Linked DNA regions of Homo sapiens: all the other regions are linked to region 2. Evidence: promoter capture Hi-C in human tissues and cell types (Jung and others, 2019). All regions are on one chromosome and are shown on one strand. Each heading gives the region's core, a stretch centred on a gene start or on the middle of the fragment in contact. The rest is flanking DNA. Distances are from core to core; before and after follow the strand shown. Region 1 overlaps RNF130 (ring finger protein 130). Region 2 holds the start of TBC1D9B (TBC1 domain family member 9B). Region 3 overlaps SQSTM1 (sequestosome 1).

Region 1 (2,700 bases), core at 71-2,570, 100 kb before region 2:
TTGGGTTTTGTAAAACTGGCTCAATAATGACCTTTATAGCAAAGAAAATCCTGGATTGATTGGAGCTCATTGGATTTTGCATTCAGTTGTCTCTTCTTACTTGGTTTTATGACATGGACGTTTCTGAAAAGTACAGATCAATTATTTTGTATTTGAGTTTATCCGACGTGTTGTGTTCCTTCGTGATTAGTTTCAGGTTATATGCGTTTTGTGAAAATGTAGATTTGCTTGCATTTGTAAGAGATAATACAAATACAAAGATGTCTCTTATCCCCTTCACTCATTTCTCCTTGTGGTAACAACATGTATAACTGTGGTCAGTATCATAACCTGGAAATTGGCATGGATGCAATCCACTGATCTTCCTAAATACACTGAAATCTCCCCACCTCTCCAGTTTAATGTGTACTTATTTGTGTATGTGTGTGTCTGTCTTTAGTCTGTGTAGTTTTATCGCATGTGTAGATTCACATGACCAACAACACGGTCAGGATACAGACCAGTTCCATCACAAGGAACCCTTGTGCTACTCTTTTATAACCACAGCCACCTCCCTCCTTCCCCCTTCCCTAATCTACCAGGAATCTGTTTCTCATCTCTATAGTTTTGTCATTTCAAGAATGTTAAATAGGTGGAATCATGGGCCAGGCACGGTGGCTCACACCTGTAATCCCGGCACTTTGGGAAGCCAAGGCAGGTGGATCACTTGAGGTCAGGAGTTCAAGACCAGCCTGGCCAACATGGCAAACCCCATCTCCACTAAAAATACAAAAATGTAGCTGGGCAAGGTGCCATGCGCCTGTAGTCCCATCCATTCAGGAGGCTGAAGCACGAGAATTGCTTGAACTTGGGAGGCAGAGGCTGCAGTGAGCCATGATCGTACCACTGCACTCCAGCCTGGGTGACAGAGTGAGACTCTGTTTCAAAAAAATAAAGAAAAAAATGTTATATAGGTGGAATCATATAGTATGTAACCTCTAGAGTTTGGAATTCTTCACTTCCTCACTCAGCATAATTACCTTGAGATACTTTTTTTTTTTTTTTTTTTTTTTTTTTTGAGATGTAGTCTCACTGTCGCCGAGGCTGGAGTGCAGCGGCTGGATCTCAGCTTACTGCAAGCTCCGCCTCCCAGGTTCACGCCATTCTCCTGCCTCAGCCTCCGGAGTAGCTGGGACTACAGGTGCCTGCCACCGTGCCTGGCTAATTTTTTGTATTTTTAGTAGAGATGGGGTTTCACCGTGTTAGCCAGGATGGTCTCGATCTCCTGACCTTGTGATCCGCCCACCTCAGCCTCCCAAAGTGCTGGGATTACAGGCGTGAGCCACTGCGCCCGGCCAAGATACTTTCAAGTTGTTATGTGTATCAGTCATTTATTCCTTTTTATGGCCGAACTATATCCCATGGTTTGGATGTACCACCGTTTGTTTAATTGCTCGCTCATTGAAGGATATCTGGGATGTTTTCAGATTTTGGCTATTACAAATAAAGCAGCTGTGAACAATCACATACAGGTTTTGGTGTAAACATGAGTTTTCGTTTCCCTGGGATAAATGTGTAATTTCTGAGTTCAGTGTAAATTCCAAGAGTGAAGTTTTTGGGCTGTTAAGATAAGTGCATATTTAGTTCTGTAGGAAACTGTTAGACTCATTTTGCAAAGTGGCCATACCATTTTGCATTCCTGCTAGAAATGTATGACTGATCCAGTTCCTCCACACTCTCGACAGCACTTGGTGTTTTCATCTCTTGTGATTGTTGAGTTGTGTAGTAACATCTCTTGTGGTTTTAGTTTGCATTTCTCTAATTAGACATTTTTTATGTGCTTGTTTGCCATCCGTATATCCTCTTCAGTGAAATATCCATTCATGTCTTTTGCCCATTTTCTACCTAGATTGTTTTTCACTGTTGAATTTTGAGAGCTTTTTATGTATTCCAGATACAAGTCCTTCGTCAAATATGTGGCTTGCAGAGATTATCTCCCAGTCTGTATTTTGTTTTGTTCAACCTCTTAACAAGGTCTTTGAAAAGCAAAAATTTCTAATTTTTATGGTTTATTAATTTTTTCTTTTATGAATTGTGCTTTTGGTGTCAAGTCTAAAAATTCTTTACTTATCCCTAGATATCCCAAAGATTTTCTACTATTTTTCCTGGAAGTTTTATATTATGTTTTACATTTAAGTCTGTGATTAGTTTATTTGAAGGCTTTCCTGTTTTCTAATGTAAGAATTAAGTGCTATAAATTTCTCTCTCAGCACTTCTTTAAGGCTATGCCTCACATATTTTGATATGCTGTATTTTCATTTTCATTCAGTCCTATGTATTTTTTTCTTTTGAGACTTCTTCTTTTACCCATACATTACTGAGAAGTATGTTATTGAATTTCCAGTAGTTTAGATATTTTACTTTTTTTTTTTTCCTTTTGAGAGAGGGTCTTACTCTGTCACCCAGGCTGGAGTGCAGTGATACGATCTCAGCTCACTGCAACCTCCACCTCCCGGGTTCAAGTGATTCTCTGACCTCTGCCTCCCGAGTAGCTGCGATTACAGGCGCATGCCACCGTGTCCGGCTAACTTGTATTTTTTGGTAGAGATGAGGTTTCACTGTGTTGCCCAGGCTGGTCTTGAACTCCTGACCTCAAGCGATCTGTGCACCTCAGCCTCCCAAAGTGCTGGGATTACAGACATGAGCCACTGTGTCCTGCCA
Region 2 (2,700 bases), core at 129-2,628:
ACGACTCTTTACCTCCTCTCAGGGTGTTAAAAAGTGCAGTTCTTCCAAATTCTTTCCCTCTAGAGAGCACAATGACAATATTAGTTCAGACTTCCAAGGTGTTGAAGAAAGCCCGCCTCTGCATCTTGAAAGCTGATTCCTATATCCAGCAACATTGAAGAAGACTGCAGATCACTCTGGGTGTCAACTGCATGTACCTACATCCATCGCACCAAGATTCTTGAGTGCCAATCACAGAAACCCACCTGGAAGTCAGGTCCAGCTCCAAGGATGGTTTAACTGCCCCCTTCCCTTTGCCCTCTAGCCAGACCCTGGTGAGGGTTCCAGCCAGCAGGGTGACCCCACATCCCAGTCGACCCCGGACAGGCCCCAGGCCCGTTGTCCCAGGTGGAGTTGACAGCCCCCTCATGCAGAAGGCTGTGTGTGGACTGGCGCTGCCCCTGCAGGCCAACACTGGGAGACCAGGGACCCGCATTCGCCTGCAGCCAGCCTCACACTTGCGCAGAAGCCGCCACTGGGCCCAGGGCCAGTCCAGACCCCATCCCCAGGGCCGGCCAGCCTCTGTGACCCGTCTGTCAGGGGAGGGGCAGCACTGATTTCCAAGGATGCAGCCCGTATCAGGGCCTCCTGGCACCTGCCCTGCGCTGGAAGATTCTTCTAGTCTCCCGGCCCCAGTGTCAGAATTCTGAGAACTGGCCGGGCGCGATGGTTCACTCCTGTAATCCCAGGACTTGGGAGGCCAATGTAGGCGGATCACCCGAGGTCAGGAGTTCGAGACCAGCCTGGCCAACATGGTGAAACCCCGTCTCTACTAAAAATACAAAAAAATTAGCCGGGCGTGTTGGCGGGAGCCTGTAATCCCAGCTAAAGAGGCTGGGGCAGGAGAATCACTTGAACCCGGGAGGCAGAGGTTGCAGTGAGCTGAGATTGCGCCACTGCACTCCAGCCTGGGCGACACAGCAAGACTCTGTCGAAAAAAAAAAAAGAAAAGAAAGCTGAGAATTAGGAGGAACTGCAAACCCTTTCCAGGCGCCCTTTGCAGTGCTAACACGCCCCGGGTTGCACGCGCAACCAGCCAAAAGCCGCCAAACTCTGCTTCTTGACATCCTTCTCTCACACTGCACAGCTTTCAAAACGCCAGAAGCCCTGCTCTGCACAGCGGCTCCCCTGTCTGCGGACTGGGCCGTTCCGTTCTGGACCCAGGCCGGAGGCCGTGGGCTGCACCGCTCCAGGAGGCCAGGCTGGCGCGCGCCCGAGGCCGGGGCTGAGGGGGCGGCGCGGAACTCGGGCCGCGTGCGGGAGCGCCACACGCCCGCCAGGGGGCGCCGCCCGCCCGGCCCCGCCCCGCCCCGGCCCGCTCCGCACGCTCCGCTCCGCACGCTCCGCTCCGGGACGCCGACGGCGGCGGGCGCTTCCGTCTCGCGGGCCTCGGCCCGGTGCGAGCGGCTCCGCGATGTGGCTGAGCCCGGAGGAGGTGCTGGTGGCCAATGCGCTGTGGGTGACGGAGCGGGCCAACCCCTTCTTCGTGCTGCAGCGACGCCGGGGCCACGGCAGGGGCGGCGGCCTTACGGGTGAGAGGCGCGCGGGCGGCCGGGCCTGTGGGCGCCGCGGCTGGGCTGGCGGCGGGGCTGGCGGCGGGCGGCGGGCGGGTCCGGTTCCGGCCCGGCCTCGGCGCGTCGCGGCGGACACGCACGCCAGCGCGCGGCGGGGCGGGGGCGCGAGGCCAGGACCCGGGAGCCGGGCGCGGAGGGGCCGGGGCGGGGAGGCGAGGGGCTGGCGGGAGGCGAATGCGCCCTCGGCGGGCTCTCCTCAGGTCGGCTTGGGGCGGCCAAGTGGAGACCGGCGGCGGCTTCTGCCCGGATTCGGCGCCCGCGAGCCCCGGGGGCCGTGCAGCTTCCCGGGATCTCACCGCCGAAAGTTGGCGAGACCGCCCTGTCCTCATCCTCCACCTCAGTTTCCCCAGGTGCCTCTAAGGGGCCAGGTGACGCCAGCGCACGTTTTCTTTTGCCCTCTTCTTCGTGCCCATCTCACCAAAGTATCGCCCTTTTAGCAAGATCAGAGGTCCCTGGAGCTGGCCGCACCCCCATTCCCCCAGCTTCTCCTCCCCCACCTTTCCTGCTCCTGGCTGCTCTCAGAGCTGCGCACCCAAGGCTGTGGGTAGCGGCACAGGGTGTTCCTGCAAGCTCGCCAAGGTGGCCCTTTGTGGGCCCGGGTGCCACCATCACACAGGATGAAGCTGGACAGGCACCCTTGGAGTCGTGCGGCCTGTGGGATCCAGGGGAGGCCCACAGGCCACTCCCTCCGCAGGTGGTGTCCGGGGCCCCTCATGCTCCAGGGCCTGCGCCCAGCACTGCAGGAGCCCGGCTGGCTCGGGCTCAGTGCCTGTGCTCTTCGGGGCACCGACTGTTGCCCTACAGGATTGCGGTCCCAGTGTTGCCAGGTCGTCCAGTTTATCAAGAGCATTTTCTGTGAATCATCCTGATTTTCAGTGTGAGCAGCTAATAGCCAGATGCAGACGGAGGCTTCTCCTGGGCCACGTTTCTTCATGTGGAAGAGACTGTTCTGTTCCCAGAAACACTCAGTGTTCCCTTCAGCTTCGGGTTCCCTCCCAGTGGGCTTCAAGGATCTCGGGCTCCTGTTCTGGACCCGCCTCCTAGATCCAGCTGTTCAGTCGGCAGCCCCTGTGGCTAACCTCGAAGC
Region 3 (2,700 bases), core at 130-2,629, 78 kb after region 2:
TCTCTCGGCTCACTGCAGCCTCTGCCCACCAGGTTCAAGTGATTCTCCTGCCTCAGCCTCCCGAGTAGCTGGGACTATAGGCACGTGCCACCACGCCCAGCTAATTTTTATATTTTTAGTAGAGACGGGGTTTCACCATGTTGGCCAGGCTGGTCTTGAACTCCTGACCTCAGGTGATCTGCCTGCCTTGGCCTCCCAAAGTGCTTGGATTACAGGCATGAGCCACTGCACCCAGCCTGCCTTCTCTTTGCATTTGCTAACTTTCCCTATGTTCTCCCACAGCATCTCCATAGTTTTCTACAAGGGTGAAGTGGATCAGAGACCCCACTGGTTCTGGTGTTTTCCATAGAGAGTGCCGCTTGCTGTGCAGCCTCCTGTTCCAGCCAGGACTGGCAGCTCTCTGGGCAGAGGCTGCGCTGTGATGCTGTGACCCCCTTTACGTTCACCCTCTGTCCTGTTAGGTCCCCCGTTTCCTAATACCTCTGTGCTTCATTTTGGGTTTCTCTCTTCATGTGGTTCAAACCAAGGTTAAAATAATTAAGACTGTATACCAGAAAGTAACTTTGTTCTGCCCTGATACTTGATCGTTTTAGCTGGGTATAGAATTCTAGGCTGGACCAGGCACAGTGACTCATGCATGTAATCCTAACACTTTGGGAGAACAACATGAGAAATCTCTTGAGCCCAGGAGTTCAAAATCGGCCTGGGCAGCATGGCAAGACCCCATCTCTACAAAAAAATTTTAAAATAGCTGGGCACGGGGCTGGGCACAGTGGCTCATGCCTGTAATCCCAGCACTTTGGGAGACGAAGGCAGGTAGATCATGAGGTCAGGAGTTCAAGACCAGCCTGGCCAAGATGGTGAAACCCCATCTCTACTAAAAATATAAAAATTAGCCAGGCATGGTGGCGGGTGCCTGTAATCCCAGCTACTCGGGAGGCTGAGGCAGAAAATTGCTTGAACCCAGGAGGTGGAAACTGCAGTGAGCTGAGATCACGCCGCTGCACTCCAGCCTGGGCGACAGCGAGACTCTGACTCGGGGGTGGGGAAAGAAAAAGAAAAAAAAAAATATCTAGGCACAGTGGCACATGCCTGTAGTCCCAGCTACTGGGGAGGCTGAAGCAGAAGGATCACTTGAGCCCACGAGATGAAGACAACTGTACCACTGCTCTCCAGCCCAGATGACAGTGAGACCCGGTTTCAAAAACAAAAGAATTCTAGGCCGAAAAGCCTTTTTAACTGATTTCTGGAGTCATCAGTTGTTCCATTGTCTCCTAGCTGTTCATGTTTGTTTGCTCTTTGTATTCCCAAGTATTTACAATAACCTAGAGTTTTAGAAGCCCCTCTTTCTTTATCCTCAGGGTTCTGACACTTGACAATGATAAGCTTTGCTGTGGGGTCTTTCTCAGTCATTGTCAGGGCCGCTTTCAATCTAGAAGATAATGGCCTCATTGCCAAGAAACTATCTTGCATTTTTGTTTTTTGTTTTGTTTTGTTTTGTTTTGTTTGAGACAAGGTCTGTTTCTGTCTCCCAGGATGGAGTGCAGTGGTACAATCCAGGCTCGTTGCACCCTCTGCCTTCCAGGCTCAAGCCATCCCCAACCTCAGCCTCCCACGTAGCTGGGGCCATAAGTACACAACTCCATGCCTGGCTAATTTTCATAGTGTTTGTAGACACGGGAAGTGGGGGATGGTGTCTCCCTATGTTGCCAAGGCTGGTCTCAAACTCGTGAGCTCAAGTCATCTGCCTGCCTTGGTCTCCCAAAGTGTTGGGATTACAGGCATGAGCCACCATGCCTGGTGCCAAGAAACTATCTTGCATTCTATGTTCATTTCCTCCTTTCAGTTTTCTATTCTTTCTGGAATTCCTACTCATCCTATATTGGGCTTCTAGACTTGTTCCTACATTAGGAGGAGAGGAAAGATAAAAAAACTATCTCTATTTTGCTTTTGGAATATCTCCTTGAGACAATAGTAGAATCTAAGCCTTCTTTTGAAGTTTTTTTTCTATTTTTTAATTTTAAGAACTTTCTTATTCTGTTCCCTTTGTTATCCTTTTTCTAGTATCCTGTTCCTTTTTCATGCAGACAATGCTCTTTTGTATCTCACTGAGGACATTAACATTCTCTTCCCTTTAAGACCTTTTCTCCCATGTGTGGGGGCTTTCCTCAGATGGCTGGTGACCCAGGGGTCTGATCCCACTGAAGCACTAAGGTTGACAGGAAGCCTTCTGTGGGGCCAGCGCCATCACTAACTTTCCCTCTGCAGGGTGCCTGGGGGTCTGGCAGGCAGGAGCTGTAGGACACTTCTCTGGGGGCATTCAACCTCCCTCAGCAGGGACTCCCCACCTCCTGCCTGGCCAGGGAACTGACTGCTGGGCCCATTGCTCATTCGGGATGCCCAGTTTCAGGCTGGTGCCTCACCCTGGCCTGTCTCTAGTATCCCATGCTGAAGCTTCCCTGGGTCAGGTGCTCCTGGAATTAAACATGAGGTCTCCTTCAATTGTTGGCAAGAGCCATCATCTGGCCAAGTGGGCCCTGAAGTCTCTAGCTGACACTCCCTAGAGGTTTTCAACCCTCCCCCCTTGTTCCTGTCCCCCGATCACTCCCACCTCTTGCCTTTCCTGGTACCTGAACAGATGGTCTTCCTTCTCACCAGGATGCCCTGTTCTGGCACAGAGATTTCTGAAGCTTCCCTCAG

Evidence for each region. The method cuts DNA at HindIII sites, captures the fragments that hold promoters and counts their contacts. A contact is called where the count stands out against the background at its distance.
Region 1: a fragment that was not itself captured here is called in contact with the fragment with the promoter of TBC1D9B in region 2 in 8 of the 25 tissues and cell types used here (H1 embryonic stem cells, dorsolateral prefrontal cortex, hippocampus and 5 more).
Region 3: a fragment that was not itself captured here is called in contact with the fragment with the promoter of TBC1D9B in region 2 in 8 of the 25 tissues and cell types used here (H1 embryonic stem cells, adrenal gland, dorsolateral prefrontal cortex and 5 more).

Annotation. Positions count from the first base shown.
Region 1 is chr5:180,008,602-180,011,301 of GRCh38, reverse strand. The region is part of intron 3 of RNF130 (ring finger protein 130); the gene reads left to right. Among named protein-coding and RNA genes, the nearest start is that of MIR340, 5.4 kb to the left of the region's middle. The HindIII fragment of the contact is 5,868 bases long and covers 1-2,700 here.
Region 2 is chr5:179,906,575-179,909,274 of GRCh38, reverse strand. TBC1D9B (TBC1 domain family member 9B) reads left to right here and starts at 1,378. Exons shown (of 21, transcript NM_015043.4): 1 at 1,378-1,571. The coding sequence starts at 1,454. RefSeq lists silencers at 1,227-1,386, 1,457-1,516, 1,527-1,666, 1,717-1,766 and an enhancer at 1,647-2,424. The HindIII fragment of the contact is 17,290 bases long and covers 1-2,700 here.
Region 3 is chr5:179,828,917-179,831,616 of GRCh38, reverse strand. The region is part of intron 5 of SQSTM1 (sequestosome 1); the gene reads right to left. Among named protein-coding and RNA genes, the nearest start is that of SQSTM1, 9.4 kb to the right of the region's middle. The HindIII fragment of the contact is 6,404 bases long and covers 1-2,700 here.